3 separate regions of the Homo sapiens genome follow, and all the other regions are linked to region 3. The links are contacts of gene promoters, found by promoter capture Hi-C in human tissues and cell types (Jung and others, 2019). All regions are on one chromosome and are shown on one strand. The core of a region is centred on a gene start or on the middle of the fragment in contact, and the rest is flanking DNA. Distances in the headings are between cores, read along the strand shown. Region 1 overlaps ZNF721 (zinc finger protein 721). Region 2 overlaps ZNF718 (zinc finger protein 718). Region 3 holds the start of ZNF732 (zinc finger protein 732).

Region 1 (3,626 bases), core at 322-2,821, 140 kb after region 3:
CTTCACATGTGTAGGGTTTCTCTCCAGTATGAATTCTCCTATGTTTAGTAAGGGTTGTGGAAATATTAAAGGCTTTACCACATTCTAAACATTTAAAGGGTTTCTCGCCAGTATGAATCCTCTTATGTTTAGCAAAGCTTGAGGATGAGGAAATGACTTTGCCACATTCCTTACATTTGTAGGGTTTCTCTCCAGTATGAATTTTCTCATGTTTATTCAGGTGTGAGGAATGCATAAAGGCTTTCCCACATTCTTTACATTTGTAGGGTTTATCTCCAGTATGAATTTTCTTATATTCATTCAGGTTTGTGGACCATCCAAAGGCTCTGTCACGATCTTCACCTGTGTAAGCTTTCTCTCTGTTGTGAATTCTCTTATGTGCAGTAAGGTTTGTTGACCTATTAAAGGCTTTGCCACATTCTTCACATTTGTAAGGTTTCTCTCCAGTATGAATTTTCTTGTGTTGATTCAGGTCTGTGTACCATCCAAAGTCTTTGCCACGTTCTTCACAAGTGTAGGGTTTCTCTCCAGCATGAATTCCTTTATGTTGAGTTAGGTCTGAGAACTTCTGAAATGACTTGCCACATTCGTTACATTTAAAGTGTTTCTCTCCAGTATGTCTTGTCTTATCTTTGTTTGAATTTGCAAATTTACTAAAAACTTTGACACGTGCATTACATTGAAATATTTTGCTCTGAGTATTTGACAAGCATTTATTAATTCCATTATAAACTCCCTTCTGCACTTTACACACGTTCATACTTTTACAGCCTTTCCTTAATTGTAAATTATCATGCCCACATTTCTCATATCTTCTCAGTATAAGTTTGTGGAATGAATCTTCTATCCCCTGCACTGGCAAAAAGTCTTGGGTGAAATGAGAACACATAGCTGAAAGAAACAAAAATAACAAATTATCCCAGTTACTAGATTCATATGCATATACTTTACAAATCATAAGATTATACAAAGTACGCTAGTAAGATCACATAACAAAATACCACAAGTCATAACTTCTTCACATATACATGTAACAAACATATGGTGATCAAAATGCCTTTGTGTGAAATCTATAAATGAGTTAATTGTATGCAATCCCTCAGGTAAGCACAATGCCAAGAGCCACATAGAACAGGAAGGAATGTTTGTTCAATTTACCCACCAACAGCTCTTCCTCCCCAATATAGCACTATGCCATTAGAAGAAAGCTCTCAACTCCTTTTTCCTTAAAAGAGAAGAAAAATACTGACACACATATCCTTATTTCTGGCTTTTGGGGTCTTTACAAAAACTGATTTCTGCCTCCAATAAAACAGTGCTGAAAGAAATGGTGATACTTTGGAAGAACAACTTGGGTATTCGAAGACAAAATATAAATATTTCAAAAGCAGACTGAAGTGCTGAATACAGGCAACAGGTACAGCAAGTGATGAGAGACTTTTTTTTTTTTTTTTTTTTTTTGAGATGGAGTCTCACTCTGTCGCCCAGGCTGGAGTGCAGTGGCGGGATCTTGGCTCACTGCAAGCTCCACCTCCTGGGTTCATGCCATTCTCCTGCCTCAGCCTCCCCAATAGCTGGGACTACAGGCACCTACCACCACGCCCAGCTAATTTTTGTATTTTTAGTAGAGATGGGGTTTCACTATGTTAGCCAGGATGGTCTCAATCTCCTGACCTCGTGATCCACCTGCCTCAGCCTCCTAAAGTTGCTGGGATTACAGGAGTGAGCCACCATGCCTGGCCAATTAGAGCCTCTTAACAGGAAACATGAAGAAACCCTTTTAACTAAAAAATAAACACAAAATTCCAGACAAGAGACATCCTTCCAACATGTATGACAGGTTCCCATAATCTCTACCAAAGACAACTGGCTTCAGACTACATCATGACAAAGCAACATAATAAAGATTGTGACAAATAGCTTTTTGTTAATGTTCAAATAACAAGCAAATATTACAATGTATACAAAATATTAGAACACATTATAATGATTTTAAAATTTTCAGAAAACCATAAAAAAAGATGTACTAATTTTTTAAATGTAATCTGAATAATGCTGAATCAGTTAACTGAAAACACATATAACTAAATGTAATCAGAAAAATCAGAACATCAATGAAAACATTAAAAACATAAAAAAAGGAGGTGAAAAATATAAAATAATGACTCAGAAATTTTCAGAAGTTAAAAAAAGGATGTAATAAATGAAGCAGCTCAACAAACTTCAACTAGGATACACACACAGATTTATCGCAAGGCACATATATATACATGAGCAAAGTTTGAAAAATCAAACACAAGAAGGGCATTTTAGGAACTACAAAAAGTGATGTGTCATTTATAAGTGTGGTCTTATAAGATTACCAGTGAATCTGTCAACAAAACTATTTCACACCAGAAGGAACTGCAATATAATTAAGATGCTGGAGAAAAAAAAATTCTACATGGGAATAATATAACCAGCAAAACTGTCCTAAAAATGAAGAAAAAGTAAAGACCTTTCAAGATAAGCACATGCTGAAAAAGTATATTAGCACAACACCTGTCTTACCAAAAAAATGCTGAAGAAAGTGTCTTCCAGTGAAAATAACATAATGCAAGAAAACCAAACATAATCATACGAAAATATGTAACTTTCTGAAAAAGATATGCACGTACACAAAGTTCTGTACCACTATCCTAATAGTGCGGAAAACATTTTAATTATTCTCTAAAATTTTAAAGTTAAAAGCATAAAAATGATCATAAACTGTTGATCATTATCTGGTAATAATATACCACATAAAAATATGATTACTGACATCAATAACAAACGAGGACAGATGTAATGAGGAAGTTTTCTTTTTTTTTTTTTTTTTGAGACAGAGTCTCACTCTGTCACCCAGACTGGAGTGCAGTGGCACTATCTTGGCTCACTGCAACCTCTGCCTGCCCAGTTCAAGCAATTCTTCTGCCTCAGCCTCCTGAGTAGCTAGAACTACAGGTACACACCACCATGCTCTTCTACTTTTTGTATTTTTAATAGAGACAGGGTTTCATCATACTGGCCAGGCTGGTCTCGAACTCCTGACCTCGTTATCTGCCTGCCTCAGCCTCCAAAAGTGCTGGGATTGCAGGCGTGAGCCACCACACCCAACCCCGAATTTTCTTTTTTTTTTCTTTTTTTTCTTTTTAGACAGAGTCTCACTCTGTTGCCAGGCTGGAGTGCAGCAGCACAATCTTGGCTCACTGCAACCTCCCCTCCTGGGTTCAAGCAATTCTCCTGCCTCAGCCTCCCAAGTAGCTGGGACTACAGGCGCACCACCACGCCCAGCAAATTTTTGCATTTCTGGTGAAGATGGGGTTTCAACATGTTGACCAGGATGGTCTCGATCTCTTTACGTAATCCGCCTGCCTCAGCCTCCCAAATTGCTGGGATTACACACGTGAGTCACCGCGCCTGGCTGAGGAAGAATTTTTCAAATGCAACTCGTTTTTACCAGTTTAAAATATATTATTTTGCAGGGCACAGTGGCTCACACCTGTAATCCCAGCACTTTGGGAGGCCGAGGCGGGTGGATCACAAGGTCAGGAGATTGAGACCATCCTAGCTAACATGGATAAACCCCATCTCTACTGAAAATACAA
Region 2 (3,558 bases), core at 609-3,108, 140 kb before region 3:
ATATCTGCCCTCAACTTTATTATTGATGTCACTAATCATATTTTTATTTTGCATATTAACAGTTTATGATTAAGGGGTTTTTTTGTTTGCTTTTATCTTTCACATTTTGGAGAATAAAATATTTTCTGTGCTATCATGATAATGATATAGAACTTTATATTTTTGTATGTGCATATCTTTCCTAGAAAATTATGTTTTCATATGATTATGTTTTGTTTTCTTGCATTATGTTATTTTCAGTGAAAGATACTTTCTTTAGCCTTTTTTTTTTTTTGCAAGGCAGATGTAGTGCTAATATACTTTTTCAGCATTTGGTTATCTTGCAAGGTCTTTACTTTTTCTTCATTTTTAGGACAGTTTTGCTGGTTATATTAGTCCCACTTAGGAGCTATTCTTTTTTTCTTTTTTCTTTTTTTTTTTTTTGAGATGGAGTCTTGTTTTGTCGCCCAGGCTAGAGTGCAGTGGCGCGATCTTGGCTCACTGCAACCTCTGCCTCCTGGGTTCAAGCAATTCTTTTGCCTCAGCCTCCCGAGTAGCTGGGACTACAGGCATGTGCACCACACCTGGCTAATTTTTTTGTATTTTTAGTAGAGACAGGGTTTCACCATGTTGGCAAGGATGGTCTCGAACTCCTGACCTTGTGATCTGCCCACCTTGGCCTCCCAAAGTGTTGGGATTACAGGTCTGAGCCACTGTGCCTGGCCGAAGCTATTTTTCTTTCACCACTTTATATTACAATTCCATGACATCTGGAATTTTTTTTTTTTGACAGATTCACTGGTTATCTTATAAGACCACACTTATTTATAAATGACACATCACTTTTACCTTGTAACTCCTAAGATTCTCTTCTTGTCTTTGACTTTTGAAACTTTGCTTGTATGTGTCTTGTTATAAATCTCTATGTGTGTATCCTAGTTGAAGCTTGTGGAGCATCTTCAGTTTTTACATCCTTTTTTTACTTTTGAAAATGTCTCAGTCATTATTGTTGTATTTTTCACCTTCATGACTTGTTTTTTATATTTTTAATGTTTTCATTGATATTCTTATTTTTCTGATTTTATAAATTGTATATGTTTCTATTTCACTCATTGAGCATTATTCAGGTTAAACTTTTAAATTTTGAATATCTTCATTATTTATAGTTGTTTTCTGAAAATTTTCAAATTTTTTAATTGGGCCATGTTGCCCTAGTATTTTGCCTACATTGTAATATTGTTATTTGAACATGAACTAAAAGCTATTTGTCACAATCTTTACAATGTTGCCTTGTCCTCACATAGTCTGAAACCAGTTGTCTTTGATAGAGATTATGGGAGCCTCTCATACATGTTGTAAGGGTGTGTCTTGTCTAGAATTTTGTGTTTATTCTTCAGTTAAAAGAGTTTGTTCATGTTTCTTCTTATGGTTTCTAATCACTTGCTCTACCTGTTCCCTGTTTTTAGCACTGCTGTCTGCTCATGAAACATTTACCTTTGGTCTCAGCAGACTCACCACCATTTCTTTCAGCACCCTGTATTATTGGAGACAGAAACCAGCTTTTGTAATAATTTCCAAAAACCAGAAGTAGGAATGCGTGTGTCACTATTTTTCCTCTAAGAAGCCAGGTGTTGGCAGTTTACTCCTAAAGCACAATGCTATATTTGTGGGAAGGAAGAGCTGCAGTGGGTAAATGTAACATACTTTACTTCGTGTTTTATGTGGCTCTTGGAATTGTGCTTACCTGAGGCATTGCACATAATTAACTCATTTATAGATTTCACACAAAGGCATTTTGGTCAGTATATTTTTGTTATATATGTCTGTAAAGAAATTATGGCCTGTGGTATTTACTGAGCATCTTACTGATATACTTTGTATAATTTTATATATTAGATTTGTAATTGTATTAGATTTGTAAAGTATATTTATTTACTTATTTGTTTATTTATTTATTGAGATGGGGTCTCACACTGTCACCTTTTCTGGAGTGCAGTGGTGTGATCTTGGCTGATGGAAGCCTCTACCTCCCGGGTTCAAGGGATTCTCCTGCCTCAGCCTCCCAAGTAGCTGGGATTATAGGCATGCACCATCATTCCCAGCACATTTTTTTTGTATTTTTAGTACAGACAGTGTTTCACCATGTTGGCCAGGCTGGTCTCGAACTCCTTACCTCATTATTTGCCCACCTTGGCCTCGGAAACTGCTGGAATTACTGGCTTGAGCTATAGTGCCTGGCCTGTAAAGTATATTTATATGAATCTAGTAAGTGGGATAATTTGTTATTTTTATTTCTTTCAGCTGTGTGTTCTCATTTCACCCAAAACCTTTGGACAGTGCAGGGCATAGAAGATTCATTCCACAAACTTATACCAAAAGGACATGAGAAACGTGGACATGAGAATTTAAGAAAAACTTGTAAAAGTATAAATGAGTGTAAGGTGCAGAAAGGTGGTTATAATAGAATTAACCAATGCTTATTAACTACCCAGAAAAAAACAATTCAATCTAATATATGTGTCAAAGTTTTTCATAAATTTTCAAATTCAAACAAAGATAAGATAAGATATACTGGAGATAAAACCTTTAAATGTAAAGAATGTGGCAAATCATTTCACGTGCTCTCACGCCTAACTCAACACAAAAGAATTCATACTGGAGAGAACCCCTACACATGTGAAGAATGTGGCAAAGCCTTTAATTGGTCCTCAATTCTTACTAAACATAAGAGAATTCATGCCAGAGAGAAATTCTACAAGTGTGAAGAATGTGGTAAAGGCTTTACTCGGTCCTCACACCTTACTAAACATAAGAGAATTCATACTGGAGAGAAACCCTACATATGTGAAAAATGTGGTAAAGCTTTTAACCAATCCTCAACCCTTAATTTACATAAGAGAATTCATTCTGCACAAAAATACTACAAATGTGAAGAATGTGGTAAAGCCTTTAAGTGGTCCTCATCCCTTAATGAACATAAGAGAATTCATGCTGGAGAGAAACCCTTCTCATGCGAAGAATGTGGCAATGTCTTTACCACATCCTCAGACTTTGCTAAACATAAGAGAATTCATACAGGAGAGAAACCCTACAAATGTGAAGAATGTGGAAAATCCTTTAATAGGTCCACAACTCTTACGACACATAAGAGAATCCATACTGGAGAGAAACCCTACACATGTGAAGAATGTGGAAAAGCCTTTAATTGGTCCTCAACCCTTAATGTACACAAGAGAATTCACTCTGGAAAAAATCCCTACAAATGTGAAGATTGTGGCAAAGCCTTTAAAGTGTTTGCAAACCTGCATAATCATAAGAAAATTCATACTGGAGAGAAACCCTACATATGTAAACAATGTGGCAAAGCCTTTAAACAGTCCTCACACTTGAATAAACATAAGAAAATTCACACTGTAGATAAACCCTACAAATGTAAAGAATGCGGGAAAGCTTTTAAGCAGTACTCCAACCTTCCTCAACATAAGAGAACTCATACTGGAGGAAAATTTTAGAAATGTGAAGAATGTGGGAGCCTTTAAGTCTTCCTCAGTCTTTTCTAATCATAATTCATACTGGAGA
Region 3 (3,591 bases), core at 458-2,957:
AGTCACTAACGTCTGAATTCTCGCAGGCAAGTGAGGGATGGACTTGGGCACACTGTGTGCACAGGAAATAAGATTTGTGAGGAAGAAAAAAGCAGAAGAGAGAAAGGAGCTATCAAGAGTCATGGTGGGGACAGGGCAGGACTGACTAAATAAAAGACTAGTTTGTGCTACAAGTGCAGGTCTAGGCAGGGTTACCATCTGACTGATTCATGTGTCCATAAAGGCAGAGGAGATTAGGATCAGGTGGTCCAGAAGCCTGGGTGGGGGAAGGAAACAGGTTCCTGCTATAGATCCAGTGTCTGGGGTTGAAATGAGCCAGGAGTCTTCCTGGCACTGTGTGTGTTATTGGCAGAATACCCTAGGAGCAAAGCTGTCACGGGCACAATTCCTGAGGGTAGAACCCTGTCCTGGGAGGAGTGTGGCAATGCGAATGGCCAGTGAGCGTCCTCGGGAGTGGGTTAGCATTAAGTGGGGGCTGGCAGCAGGGTGCAGGGAAGGGATGTTTCTCAGAACTCCTTTCCTCTAAGTTCCCAGTCCCTTCTCTCCCCGGAAGGAGACCTGGAGGAAAAGGACAGTGCCCAGCGGGACAGCACATGTGCAGAACCCGGCCGCGCCTCCCGCAGACACCAGGCATCTTTCTCCAGCCCAGGCTCAGCCATGTCTTTCTTCTGACAGAAAACGTGCGGAGTTTGCTCAACATCAGTCAATGCTCCAACCCCAACGCGGTGTCCAGCAACTCACTAACGACACCACCCAGAGTCAGCGAAGACCCCACAAGCTCAGCGCTCTTCCCGCAGCTGCCCCCCCCCTGCAGACGGCAGTCCCTGCCTCTGGACACCCGTCTTCATTTCTGAACGCCTGCCTACAAACCAGGGGCGCCCACACCCTCCTCAAGTTCAATAATGTGGCAGAACTACTCACAGAACTCAGCGAAGCGCTGTGCGCGCCCACACCAGCGTATTCTAAAAGATGCCACTCAGGAACAGCCACGCGGAGGAGGCGCACAGGGCAAGGGGACTGGTGGGCAAGTTGGAGCGGGCGGGTGATTTGCTTCGCTTCCTCACACACCTCACAAAAGCTTTTCCTTCAAGACCCGCTGGCAGCCCCCAAACCACAAGCCATGCCCGGGGCTGTCCCATTAATTAGTCCCCATTTGCTCACATGAACTCTATGTTTTGATAGGGCCTCGATCTTATTCCGAACAGGGTAAAGTAGGGACTCGACGACCGGACCACAGCTCCTCCCAGGCGGGCACCTCGCACGCCACGCAGGCGTTTTCCCGATGAGCTCCTCCTCACCCCACAGCCCAGGGAAGGTGCGGGGCTGCGGGCGCAGAGCTGCACAAGTAGGGCTGCAGGCTGGGCCAAAGCCGCCTTGCGGGGACCGACATGAACCCGGGTCCCTCACCGGAAGGGACCAAGGACTGAGGGCTGAGCGGCGGCAGCGGAGACTCCGTTCGCAGACTCCGTCCCGCCGCCGCCATTTCCCGCCGGTTCGGATGAGGCCTCCCCAGCCTTGGGACGCCCTGCCCCCACACTCACCATTTCCCCACTTCAGGGGTGTAGCGGAGTCTCAGCTACGAATCATCCAATACCCGCAGGTCACAGAGCGACGGAGGCTGAGGCTGTGACCGAATCACCGACGCCTCCCTGAGGGGTGAAAGCACGGCCGTGGAGACCCTAACCGAGCTCACGCTGGCGCAAAAGGCAAAAGCCGCGCCAGATCCCGGATGCCGCCCCCTCCTCTCCGGCTGCGCGCCTGATTGGGCAGTTCTCAATCCAGCGCTCTGATTGGATAAGATACCAAGCTCCCCACGCTCAGAATTTGAGTGACAGAACTTGCCACCACACAGTGCACTTAATGAGGCAAGAGAGACAGACTCGTGCCTCCAGGTATTTTCAGTCAGGGCTTTCTGTGCTAGGCTTGGCTCTGTTGGGGGTTCATTTTTAACCTTCTGGTGTGTAAGGTTACGCCCATTTATAAATTGTGTACGTACGCGCGCGCACACACACAGACACACACTTGTTCACAAATGGAAACAATATAATGACAATTATTTTAATATTTTAGATTTCATAACCTCTCTGTCCTCTGGTCTTTTGAGTAGGATTTTAAGGGGGAAGCAATCCTTTAAAAAATAAAATGTTAGCTATTTGTGAATTTTCAATTTTTTATTAGCCACATCAAAAATAATAAAAAGAAACAAGTGAAATTGTTTATATTTTAACCTATTGTATCCAAAATATTGTTTCAATATGTGATCAATATATAATTAGAAATAAAGTATATTTCTGATTTAATTCGTCTAAACTCACTGTGTATTTTATGTTTGCAGCACATTTTACCTCAAACCAGCCACATTCCAGGTACTCAGTAGCTACATATGTCTGGTGGCTGCCACATCGAGTACAGCCATGAGGGCTCTGACCTCAAGAAAGTGAGGGCCTGAACACGTCTTTTCTACTGGAAGTAAGGGACCAGCCTCTCTACCAACTTTTCTCCTCAGGATGAAGGATGGGTAGGACAGTGCCCCTAGAGAGAGCAGGGGCTGCAAGCTGAGAGTGTCCACGTGAAGATCACTGTCTCCCCCTTGCTGTTTGGTACCAGTGTGGTGGTCTCCTCAGTTCAACCACGTCTGGGCTCTCTTCCCATGACCAGGAAGAATAAGACATACAGACACCAGAGAGTGAGTAAAGCAGAATAGGATTTATTAAGCATAGGGAAAGCTCTCAGCAGTAAGAGGGGACATGAAAGCAGGGTGCCAGAAATGGGGCTGAGTTTATATGGCAAGAACAAGGAAGTCTTCTGTGGGCTCTGCCCAAATGGGAGGGGTAAAGTTCCCCTATAACAGTGTTGCATCTGAGCATGCCTGGGATTGACCACAGTGACTCCGTCTTGGTTATTACCCATGAGTGCCCAAGCGAAACCCACAGCAGGTGGAAAGGGTGAAGCTAAAACCAAAATACTTATGTCATGTTAGGTAACATTATAAGGAGCTGGGTCAAGTTAATGACATTTAGGTTGATTTATTACACCTGGGCCTAAGTGGGGACAGTCCCTTCTGATCAACATCCTGGCATAAGAGGAAGTTCTTAACCACATTTCTTCCCACTAGCTACAAGGGTGGTGCATGTGCGGTCCCATGGGTGTTTTTCCTCTCCAGAGACCCTCCCTCCCTATCTTCCTAACTAGCTTCTGACTGCCTCCTCTCTCAGGGGTTCCTCTTCCTTTTAAATATCAGACAGTAAACAAGGAATGATGGGTCCACAGGAAGAGAGAGCACCATGTATTCAGATCTCTTCACAGCCTTGCCCTCCAGAGTTTAGATGTGGAGGGAATAGATTAAAGGCAAATTTCTTGTTTTGCTATTTATCTTTGGACCTGTCAGGCTGTAACTGTGTGTTTTTCTCCTGTGGTGTGGGGCACTGTGTGAGTTTAAGCACCAATCACATGCATCCACTTCTACCTGCACTTCTGTTCCCAGAAGGAAGGCCGTGAGTGTGAGTTGTCCAGGTCCTTGATATTTTGAACAAAGAATTGAACAAAATGCAAAATGGAACGAAACACATGAAGGAAACAGCAAAAGCAGGG

The links. Contacts are between HindIII fragments. The study calls those that stand out against the background at their distance.
Region 1: a contact is called between a fragment that was not itself captured here and the fragment with the promoter of ZNF732 in region 3, in 8 of the 25 tissues and cell types used here (dorsolateral prefrontal cortex, heart left ventricle, heart right ventricle and 5 more).
Region 2: a contact is called between a fragment that was not itself captured here and the fragment with the promoter of ZNF732 in region 3, in 7 of the 25 tissues and cell types used here (dorsolateral prefrontal cortex, heart left ventricle, hippocampus and 4 more).

What each region holds. Positions count from the first base shown.
Region 1 is chr4:443,542-447,167 of GRCh38, forward strand. It overlaps ZNF721 (zinc finger protein 721), which reads right to left. Exons shown (of 3, transcript NM_133474.4): 3 at 1-891. It also overlaps the pseudogene ABCA11P. Among named protein-coding and RNA genes, the nearest start is that of ZNF721, 54 kb to the right of the region's middle. The HindIII fragment of the contact is 5,137 bases long and covers 1-3,626 here.
Region 2 is chr4:158,632-162,189 of GRCh38, forward strand. It overlaps ZNF718 (zinc finger protein 718), which reads left to right. Exons shown (of 4, transcript NM_001039127.6): 4 at 2,281-3,558. The coding sequence ends at 3,491. Among named protein-coding and RNA genes, the nearest start is that of ZNF718, 36 kb to the left of the region's middle. The HindIII fragment of the contact is 3,300 bases long and covers 209-3,508 here.
Region 3 is chr4:303,767-307,357 of GRCh38, forward strand. It overlaps ZNF732 (zinc finger protein 732), which reads right to left and starts at 1,708. Exons shown (of 4, transcript NM_001137608.3): 1 at 1,542-1,708. The coding sequence starts at 1,544. LOC105374336 (a long non-coding RNA gene) reads right to left here. Exons shown (of 2, transcript XR_925020.3): 2 at 3,569-3,591. The HindIII fragment of the contact is 17,523 bases long and covers 1-3,591 here.